2 separate regions of the Homo sapiens genome follow, and region 1 is linked to region 2. Evidence: promoter capture Hi-C in human tissues and cell types (Jung and others, 2019). All regions are on one chromosome and are shown on one strand. Each heading gives the region's core, a stretch centred on a gene start or on the middle of the fragment in contact. The rest is flanking DNA. Distances are from core to core; before and after follow the strand shown. Region 1 overlaps CDKL5 (cyclin dependent kinase like 5). Region 2 holds the start of RS1 (retinoschisin 1).

Region 1 (4,662 bases), core at 1-2,500, 48 kb after region 2:
GCAAGATTCATCCTGGCTCACGAGATGCATCTGGCTATAACTGAGGGTCTATTTTGAGGAGGTGCTCAGCCTTACTGTAACATTGAGAGGCTAAGTTTTCTCTAGCATGCCCTCCCCGCTCCTCAGGACAGTTACTGGAGAGTTGGAGAGTCTAGCAGTGGTGCAGGATCCACTCACTTGGGTCTGCAGATCTGAGATCTTCTCGGGGCGCCACTCCTTTGGTCTGCTGCTTGGAGTGCTAGCAGAATGAATGGATTTCTGCAACGTCAGAAGATCAGGGCTGTCGGAATTGGGTACCTAGAGCAAAATATGGACAAGCATTCAATAAGCACACTGAGAAGCCTAATTAAGATATGCAACCACACCCAAGAGGAGAACCAAACTAAAAAGCAAACCAAACCAAAACTCAAATAACCCAGTAAAAATAGAACCCCAATCTCTCCCAATGTTCACAATGCAAGTGATGCTAGTTAAATTCTTCTGCCCTCTTAATAATTTTCCCTGCATTAGGAAAAATTGGCAGATGTCATGCAGCTTTGTTAAACCTCAACCCTTAAAGCATTCCCATGCTGTTAGTTTTAGTCGCTGTAAGAGAGAGCAGTTAAATAGGGCTGTACCAGGAATTGCTGTCGTATCCTCATTCCATATTGCAGTTAGGTTGTGAACCAGTTCAATAAAACAGAAATTTTTTCCTGCTGGGAAAATGATCCAAACACTGTATATGGTAGTGCCAAAGAAGTCTGGTAGGCTTTCAAGGATAGCAAAGTGAGAAAGTATGGTTTGGATCATATTCCCAAACCACTGTCTGATATATCTGGATCTATCATTATGTACTAGAGAAATGCTGGAAATCTGTGCCACAAATTCCAGATGAATGCAATTGCTCTATTCACCAGTTTTGGTGAACACAGAAGAGTAATGTCAAATGCCAAGCAAAAGCCCTGGTTTTAAACTGACCAGCAAAAGCTCAAGCCAGACAAGGAAACAAGCTGTTTTTTCATGGAGCCTGTTAGCTCATTCAATTTGGTCAATTCAACTTGGCTTCAAAAAGACAAATTGCCAATCAAGTGTTAACAAACTCTGTGAGTCAAATGCAAAGATATTTGTTAACTGTAAATGTTAACAGAATTCCTTACATAAAATACAGGCTTTTATAAATGTTATCTGCCCATAACTGGCTAATCAGACATGACAAACTAGCCTTTCACTAGTTTGTTTGCTTAATAGACTTTGTGCTTCAACTTTCTTAACTGATTCAGAAGAATGGCAATGAATTTATATCCCAGTGAATTTATGGAACTGGCTCACGTACTTAACTAGCATAAAGAGAATATGACCTCATGAAAATAAGACATGCTGTTGTCATCAGTAAAACAAGTTTACTGGAGCAGTTTTCAGGGCTACCATACATAAAAACGGGTACCATGGGTGGAGTGACTACAGGAAGCTTTTTCAAAGAAGAACTATGCTTTAAATGATTCTTTGAATTAAAAAGAGGAAAGAGGGATTTCTTGATGCTTGGATTCTCCCCGTTGGTGGAATCTGTCTGCAATATAAGATACAAATAAACTAATTGCAAAAAAAAAAAAAAGTGCTCTTATTGAAACTACTAGCCCTTGGAAGCCCTCAAATTGCTAAATATTAACAGTCACTGAAAGAATCTCGGTGCTGTGCATCTAGAGCTTCTGTGCCAATTCTCACCTGGATGTGAAGATGTCAATAATGCAAATTCAAGACAAGCACAAACTTCTTCTAAGTATATAATGTGAGATCATGATCAATACCTCTAGTAGGAATGCCAAGAGACCTAGACACACCTACTCACATTAAGCTTATAAAACGTTAAATAATTTTTACTTACTATCAGAAATATGGTTATAAAGAACTGTGTTAAAGAGCTACTGATAAACTTCAATCTTCTCCTAATTGCTAGAGAGGACTTCAGCAAGTAAAAAATCTACCATGTAATTTGCCTATTAGGAGAAAAAAAATCCCAACATACTGGAAACCCTTTCGAATTTGGTCAACTTTTAAGCCTGAAAACATCACTAGGAAGAGGTATTGATCACTGTGGTGGGATACTAATGTTGAGTAAGAGGCCTTGTTCTGTACTGCTAGAAATATTTACCCAATGGAAAACATCTAGCACAATTCAGATACTGGTTTTCAAAGAGAAGAAACAGAAATTTCAATATTTAAATGGAAGCATCATCACAAGTTGAGATACTAACTAACTAGGATACAATTACCAAGTTGGCAAAGTCACCATATGCTCTGAGGACTTATGTAACTCTGGATATGTAACCAAAGCCAGATTTCCCAAGGCAGCTTCCAGATTTGCTTGAGTCGAAGCAGGCACCTTTACAATACAGAATTATTTTTTTTTGTCACCACTTTTCCCTGTTTTGGATATCTCAATTGTCAGAGAACTAGAATGTCTATGAAGGTATTCAAGTATTTAGGTAATCTTTTAAGGGTATATGTAAAAAGGGATTTGAGTAAAACATCCCACAAATTTTCTTGTTCCAATGACAGGAACCTCGAGGAAGAGTTTAACTTGCATCGCTGAAGAGGCCAGAGGAGAGCTCCTAGAGGCTCCCCACAGAGGCGGGTCCATGGTATGAATTGAGCCTGGACTTGGTATTTAGGAGAACGCAGTTCTGGTTCTCCCAGTTGATTATGTGATTTTTGGGCTTTGAAGCAAGCCCACAACTTGCTTGGGCTCAGTTCCTATACCAGTGAATAAAAAAATTCAACTAGATTTAGGATCCACCTCAGCTTTAACATGTCATGCGTCTCTATGTACACTGGGCATCAGATTTTCATTCTTTTGGAATCTTATGCAAAGGCCACAATGCCTTAAATCTTTTGAAGCTTATTCTATGTAGTTTCTTTTTGCTGAGTTCTAGAAAGTGAAAAACTATTAACAGTTTAAATGCTCATTCAAAGTAGGCAGAGTTAACCCAATGTCAGGCGTAGGACTCTGAGGTTTGGAAGGCTGTACTGAGCGCTCTTTGGAAATCCCAAAGCCCTTAAATTTTATGTTTCATTTAATTAAAAGATGCAGAGATACAAACAACTTTTGGGTTGGTAAAGCTTAAGGCATTATGGCCTATGCAGAGATATTCTACAGTTACTTTAATATCAAAAAGGAAACTTATGAAAACCTAATAAAAAGTTTAAGTCGAGAGGATGTTAGAGAATGGTTATTTTCCTTTTTACTCTAATCTATATTACTAAAATATCTAAAATTTAACTAAATTCTGAATAATAAAGTCAGCCAACATGTATACTCTACTTGTGCCACAGTGAGCCAGGGACTTTAGGTTTAATGTTGCTCTACAGTAAACATCAAAATCTAAATCTATATACAAAAACACCTTCAATTCCTTAATCTTTCCTACTTTCTACCACTTAATCACCCCACAATGCCAGGAGACCTGTGGTTTAGAACAAAAACCACAAAATAAAAATAACAGTGGTCAGGAGGTAGCCAAAGTTTAACGCTCATGATAGAGAAACATGTTCTACAGACAATGATAAAAGTTTTATTAACACTTTAAACATTTTAAGTATTCCTATGTTAAATCAGGTCTATTTGTTCACCCAGTTTAAGTAACAATTATAGTAGTATCTGACTGAGTGGCATTTTGATTTGACACTTTAAAAGTAAGCTTCAGTTAAAAATATGGGCAGTTTTTTTAATGACTACTTCAGAAATATTATGCAGCCATTAGGATTGAAGATAATAAAGTATTTGTAGTAACATACATATTCTGTGCATGTAGATATAGATAGATAAACTGTTAAAAGCCAGAATACAAAATCGTACTAAAAGGATTGCTCTAATTTAAAACTTAAAAAACAAACAAACAAAAAAAAACCCCACCTTCTTGCCACAAACATATGCATAGGCTAAACAGCTGGAGGAAAATATACCAAAATCCTAATACTAGTTGTGGTAGGGTATTAAGATTTAAAACGATCTTTTTCTTTTTCTCAAATTTTCTATAATGAACTCATATTTATTTTATAAGGAAATACATAAATTTAACAAGCAAGCAAGTGAAAGAATGATCTAGAAAGATTATCTAGGAAGGTATTTGTTAACATTTCTAGAACATCTGTGAGATAAAAATGCTTACTTCAGGTTATTTATACACATTGCTATGAACATCTACCTAATCTACTTCCCATTGAGTCATAATTCTATAATTTTCATAATAGAAAGGGCCTCAGAAACACTGGGTCTAATCTACTAAACTTATAGATGAAATCAGTGAAGTCCATCTGAACAGGCCATTTTGATTGTGTCTTTTTCCTCTTCAAATAAATAAGAATAAATTACGTATGAAGTAAAACTAGAACCAAAACCATTCAAAATGGCTAACTAGGCCAGGCACAGTGGCTCATGCCTAGCACTTTGGGAGGCCTAAGTGGGCAGATTGCTTGAGCTCAGGAGTTCGAGACCAGCCTGGGCAACATGGTGAAACCCTGTCTCTACAAGAAATACAAAAAATTAGCTGGGTGTGATGGCGTGCACCCAGTTATTTGGGAGGCTGAGGTGGGAGATCACTTGAGCCCAGGAGGTAGAGGTTGCAGGGAGCTGAGATCATGCCACTGCACTCCAGCCTGGGCAACAGGGTGAGACCCTGTCTCTAA
Region 2 (6,873 bases), core at 1,482-3,981:
GTTAAACAAACAAAAAAAACCAAAAAGCGACAACGAAGTGTTTTTCTTTGTCCTTTTTTTCTTTTTAATTTTTTGGCATGTTTTTCTCGCAGAAGTGAAATGACAGATACCCTCTCCTATCCCACAAGGTCACTGCCGCCATAGTCCGACATGAGAAGTAGTGGAGGGCAGGGGCCGGGCGAAGTCCTAGACCCGATCCGGCGCCCCCGATCCGGCCGGGCCCTACCCCACCTCTCCTCCCAGTACGCCTCGGAAAATCGGGCGCTCGGGGAATGCACCTGGCTGCCCTTTGCCTGCAAGCCAGCAAGGGCCGGCCACCCAACCTCCAACTAAAATGTGGCAGGCAATACAGCAGCGCTTTGACTGCAGGTGAATTATTAAAGGTCGGTCATGATTATGACTCTGATTAAAAGTTCTATTTTTCATTAAACTCTGATGTGCAGAGCACGAAAAAAAAAAAACCCCACAGTCCCTTTTAATGCAGCAGTAGAATTTGTGGAATAGAGTTCATACACAGTATAAAATAAATGTCAGGCTTGTAGACATTCAATAAATACTGGTTGAATGAGCAAACGTTTCTCTAGTTTCTTTCTGTTCCTCTTTACTATTTCATTACAGTTTCCTTTGGGGAGTTTATTATTTGTTTAAATATTGGCTTTTTTATCTTTGACAAGAGGAATGAGGGTGTGGGCCATGGTGAGATGGTGGTAGCAAAAAATATAAAATGGGAAGGGGCACTCAGTATTTTTCTCTGCATTTTCAACCTAGTTATGCATCCTTAACAGTGTAGAAATTTGCGTCTTTTTCTAACTTGAGTGTAACTCTTTCCCTGTTATTACAATCACTTCATCAACTTTATTCTTTTTTTTTTTTTTGGAGGCGGAGTCTCACTCTGTCGCCCAGGCTGGAGTGCAGTGTCGTGATCTCAGCTCACTGCAACCTCTGCCTCCCGGGTTCACACCATTCTCCTGCCTCAGCCTCCCGAGTAGCTGGGACTACAGGCGCCTGCCACCTCGCCCGGCTAATTTTTTGTATTTTTAGTTGAGACGGGGTTTCACCGTGTTAGCCAGGATGGTCTCGATCTCCTGACCTCGTGATCCGCCCGCCTCGGCCTCCCAAAGTGCTAGGATTACAGGCTTGAGCCACCGTGCCCGGCCTTTTTTAAAACCACCTTAACCATTTTTTTTTTTTTTTGAGACAGAGTCTGGCTCTGTCACCCAGGCTGGAGTGCAGTGGTACAATCTCGGCTCACTGAAACCTCGGCCTCCTGGGTTCAAGCGATTCTCCTGCCTCAGCCTCCCGAGTAGCTGAGATTATAGGTGCACGCCACCACGCCCGACTAATTTTTGTATTTTTGGTAGAGACGAGGTTTCGCCATGTTGCCCAGGCTGGTCTCGAACTCCTGACCTCAAGTGATCTGCCTGCCTTGGCCTCCCAAAGTGCTGGGATTACAGGTGTGAGCCACCACCTCCAGCCCACCATAATCATTTTTAAGTGTACAGTTCAGTAGTGTTAAGTATATTCACATTGTTGTGAAACAGATCTCGGGAACTTTTTCATCTTGCAAAACTCAACTCTATACCTATTAAACAACTCCCCTTTTCCTCCCATCAACTTTATTCTGAATGGTGATGTAAAAATAATAGCTAATTATGTCTAGCACTGTGCTAAGTATTTTATACATATGATCTCTTGTAAGCCTCAAAATAACTCTCGAAAGTAGGCATTATTATCATCATCTTACAGATGAGAAAGTTTAGGCGCAGAGATATTAATAACTTGCCCTGAGGTCACAATGTAACAAGTGCTAGTGCTGCGATTTGGCACCCAGTCTGGGTTGGCAGTCTGTGCTCTTAAACCTACCAGGCTGCACTCATCTCTTGATTTACTTAACCAGCCCCCTAACCTTGGCCATTTAGATTGTTTCCAATTTGTTGTTGTTAAAAGTAACACAGCAATGCACAGCTTTGTGTTAACTGTCCTCCCACCACCACCAAATTTAGCATTTTCCTGAGTGAATAGGTGTGCACATGATGCCTAGTTGCTTTCAAAGAGGGGAATCCATGACATTTTCATACAATTCGAGAATGTTAGTGCTTATGTGGCAGGAAATTGTTCAAGGTCACCCCCTAAAAAATGATGGCGAAGAAAGGACGAAAACCTGAGACTTCTGGTTGTAGTTCTCTCCCTCCATTGCTTCCCTTACATTAAGATAGAATGAACAGTATGGGCCGGGCGCAGTGGCTGACGCCTGTAATCCCAGCACTTTGGGAGGCCGAGGTGGGTGGATCACCTGAGGTCAGGAGTCCGAGACCAGCCTGACTGACATGACGAAACCCCATCTCTACTAAAAATACAAAAATTAGCTGGGCGTGGTGGCGTGAGCCTATAATCCCAGCTACTCGGAAGGCTGAGGCAGGAGACTAGATTGAACCCGGGAGGCAGAGGTTGCAGTGAGCCGAGATGGCGCCATTGCACTCCAGCCTGGGTGACAAGAGCGAAACTCCATCTCAAAAAAAAAAAAAAAAAAAAAAAAAAGAACGAAAAGTATCTTCCTCGCGAACTGAATCTCAGTTGATGCTAGTATCTTCCATGAGACTTCCTTGTTGAGGCAGGTAACTCTGTGGGTTAACTTGATGGGGCTCAGCCAAAGACCTAAGAACTAAATGGATTAAGATGCTTAATGAGGCCAGGGCTCAACTTAATCCCCTGCTCCTGGGCCAGCTCTCCAGTTCAGTAAGGTAGAGCTTTGGCCGAGGACGAGGGGAAGATGTCACGCAAGATAGAAGGCTTTTTGTTATTACTTCTCTTTGGCTATGAAGGTATGTGCTATTCAACCATTGACATTCATTGCATACTTAATACATAATTTAATTAATATCGTTGATAAATAGGAATATAGCCTGAATAATATAAATATTATTAATTAGCAACACGTTAATTAACTAACATGTGTTATTAATGAACAACAGTTGTCTTTGTGTGGATGGCTTTCCAGTTCTGTGAGGAGCCTTCTAAAGTTCAAAGGATGCTTAAAATCCAACAGAAAACAGGATGGGTCTCAGAAATCTATAAAATAGCCATAAGTTGCAACAATTAATGAGAAAGTATGGCATATTCTGGAAAACTTTTAGGAGTCAAAGTGGGAGTGATTGTAGAATTTAATATTCCAAACCGGAATGCTATTGACGGTGGAGGACGATGCTATTAATAATTCTGTTGGGACGACAGGTGTAACCCAGGACCATCCAGGGCAAATTGGGGTGTAAGGTCAACCTAGTTTAAATATGGATTAACGTAACATACCCAGTACCACTGGAATCTAATAAAAAACATAATCCAACTGAGAGTCAGGAAACCTCGGAGACTCAGTACACTCACTCATTTTAAAATTTCTAAATATGACCCTAGCAGAAGTGATATGCTTCAATTAGGAAAAAATAAGGGCAAATCTGTAAAATGTCATCCAGTTCCAATTCCCTCTCAATCTTTGAAATAATATTCTTTCATGCCTCTCTCAATTCTCAAGTACCCATCTGCTCAGAATTTCTCCTCAGGTTCATCCAGATGTTAGAAATTGGTTGCCTGTCTTCTTTGTGGACATCGTGTATTTGTGTGTTATAGAAAATAAATTAAAAAGCAGGGAGAAGGAGGTCTCTGTGCTCTGCAAATGACCTGGTAGACAGACACAGCGAAACTCACACAAGTAGAATCAGAATTCTTGGTTTCACGGCTCACTGTAGCCTCAACCTCCCAGGCTCAAGCCATCCTCCTGCCTCAGCCTCCCTAGTAGCTGGGACTACAGGCACGCACCACCACATCCGGCTAATTTATTGTATTTCTTGTAGAGAGGGGTTTTCACCATGTTTCCCAGGCTGATGACTTTTGTTACTTAGTCACATTTCTCAGTATTTGGAAAGACTGGTGACAATATAATTCCAAGGTCATTCTGCAAACCCCAAGGTATATTTCTAAGTAGGGATCATGTAAACCAGTTGTCTGTTAGGATTTTTTCCCCTTGCAATTAATAGTCTGCAACTTGTCCCAGTAACTCTGACTACTTTAAGATGCTTTGGGGTTTTGTTGTTTTTCCTTTTACTCCTTGCCCCCTCCTCTTTCCTCAGCAAGAAAATCTAAGCAGACTCTTTCAAGGCTTAGATCTAAATACTCCTGGTTGTCAGACACTCCCAGGGCTCACTCTCGGATTTCTCTTCTTTGTGATTGGCATGGAGATTCATTCATTCATTCCTTGGTCCCTTCTTTTAAGAGCTCATCCCTGACTATCTGCTAGGGGGCAAACATTGTGTATGACGGCGGGGCGCGGTGGCTCATGACTGTAATCCCAGCACTTTGGGAGGCTGAGGCGGGTCTATCACCTGAGGTCAGGAGTTTGAGACCAGCCTGCCCAACCTGGTGAAACCCCGTCTCTACAAAAATACAAAAAGTATCTGGGCATGATGGCAGGTGCCTCTAATCCCAGCTACTCGGGGGAGGCTGAAGCGGGAGAATCGTCTGATTGCTGGAGAGGGAGGTTGCAGTGAGCTGAGATCATGCCATTGCACTCCAGCCTGGGTGACTGAGCGAGACTCAGTCTCAAAAAAAAAAAAAAAAAAAAGGACTTGACATGCAGGGCATCCTTGTTTCTTCCACAGTGCTGAGTCTAACAACCCTGTTCTGTGACCTCCCCACCCCCGCGATGCGAAGAAGTCCTAGAAATGTTTACCAAAGCATTTTAAAATTAGACCTGCCCAGTTAGTGGATATCAGCAATAAAAGACAGGCTGTCAGGAGGCATGAAGGATAGCACTCTTTCGTGTTCTAAAGTTTACCAATCTTTGTGCATGGCTGGGGAGCTCCAGAAATGTCCACGAAGAGCAGAGAACATCGTCTCTCCAGGTGCCCTGCAACGTGGGCCAGTGGGAAGGTTTGGGGAGCTTAAATTATCTTACTTGCTTAACGCAGGCCTTTAACAGCACTTGAAAGGAAAGCAGCCAGCCAAAAATAGCCAGTGTGGCTTGGCAACCTACTGTGTGCCCTACCCTGGGCCAGAGGGATGCTCCAGGGGACAGAGGACACAATCACTGAACTTAATCAGCATATTATCCAGATGGAGATGCATAAGGCCCATAGACATGGGAAAGATGCATCCCATTGTACAGCTGGGAACCTGAAGACAAAGGCTGTTTGTCCAATTTACCCTCCACTGCTTCTGTCCTTCAGTGGCAGTGTCTCCTCATTACAGTGAAATAAGGTAAAGAAATTGCCTTCACTTAGGCGTTGGATGAAGGTTCATTTCGGAGAGCACACAGCCTCACAGTAAGGCATTTCCTATGTCTTTTTTTTTTTTTTTTTGAGAATTTCACTCTTGTTGCCCAGGCTGGAGTGCAGTGGCGTGATCTCGGCTCACCACAACCTCCATCTCCCGGGTTCAAGCGATTCTCCTGCCTCAGGCTCCCGAGTGGCTGGGATTACAGACGTGTGCCACCACGCCCGGATCATTTTTGTAATTTTAGTAGAGACGGGGTTTCTCCATGTTGGCCAGGCTGGTCTCGAACTCCCGACCTCAGGTGATCTGCCTGCCTCGGCCTCCCAAAGTGCTGGGATTACAGGCATGAGCCACCGCACCTGGCTTCCTATGTCTTATAATTGAGTCAGGCTTCTATTTCTCTTACACCGCACATATTGGATTCAATGCCAATAAGGATTTTTAGAACATCCATCGTATTAAAATATCTTACTTCATTACTTGGTCATGTTTATTATATAAAAACAAAAAAAGTCCTTCAGCCTCAACTTATAGGTGACTGTGTTACCATCAGAGATTGCAGGGGTTTTTTTAAAGCAGTTTTATTGAGATGTAATTTATATACTCTTAAATTCACCCATTGAAAGTCTATTGTTCGATCGTTTTAAGTATATTTACAGATTTGTGGAGCACATAATCTAATTTTAGAACATTTTCATCACCCAAACATTAAGCCCTCGCTCCCCATTCTCCCTGTCTCCCCCCTCCCCCAGCCCCTGGGCAACCACGGATCGACTTTCTGTCTCTAAAGATTTGCCAGTTCTGGACAGTTCATTTCAATGGAGTCACACAGCATGTGGTCTTTTGTCTTTCGCTTAGCATATGTGGTTGAGGTTCATCTGTGTTTGAAGCATGTGCAGATAACAGATTTACCCATGAATATGCCTGTCGCCTAAAATAGTAACACTTTCACACCAGAAGCAATTTCCTTCTTTCTCTTTCACGAGAGGGACATTATTGCAGCCTGCTGCGTGCGTTCCTCCTGTTTCTCAAGCAGATTGGAAGCTGGTTACAGACCATTTTTAATCATTCATAATTTTATGCTTTTCTTCTCGGCTTCATCTGTTTCCATGGGAAGGAACGCTCTATGGTTGGTGATACCCAATCCAAGAGACTAAACTAGGTTTTCCTGTGTGTATCTAAAGCGCGCCTTTCCTCATGGGTTGCAAGGTACATTTCAAGAAATAGACACGCCTTGAAATTTCCTGCTGTGACAACAAGGGTTTCCTCACAGCAGAGTGGCCCTTTTGGACCAAGGGGCAGAATGAGCCCATATTGCATAAATCTAAGCCCACATTGCATAAATCTAAGATTGGTGACTGGCGGATGTCTCATGTAACATGTGGCGGAATCACAGAAGCCATCTAAACAGGGAGAAAAATATGCAACCACATAATCGAAATATTTCACTATTTTTCCTTTAGAGGCTGAGATATTTCTCTTGTTCCCCTTCCAACAATGCTATTTTCTGGTATGATACTATTAGGTTGGTGCAAGAGTAACTGCGGTTTTTGCCATTACAATATGTTGTCGCCAAAAATGCTTTTGTTCTCCAGTTTGTTGGTGATT

Evidence for each region. Contacts are between HindIII fragments. The study calls those that stand out against the background at their distance.
Region 1: a contact is called between a fragment that was not itself captured here and the fragment with the promoter of RS1 in region 2, in 2 of the 25 tissues and cell types used here (dorsolateral prefrontal cortex and heart left ventricle).

The regions. Positions count from the first base shown.
Region 1 is chrX:18,620,763-18,625,424 of GRCh38, reverse strand. CDKL5 (cyclin dependent kinase like 5) reads right to left here. Exons shown (of 18, transcript NM_001323289.2): 17 at 178-297. Among named protein-coding and RNA genes, the nearest start is that of RS1, 49 kb to the left of the region's middle. The HindIII fragment of the contact is 4,270 bases long and covers 1-3,385 here.
Region 2 is chrX:18,667,966-18,674,838 of GRCh38, reverse strand. It overlaps RS1 (retinoschisin 1), which reads left to right and starts at 2,731. Exons shown (of 6, transcript NM_000330.4): 1 at 2,731-2,822. The coding sequence starts at 2,771. The HindIII fragment of the contact is 16,600 bases long and covers 1-6,873 here.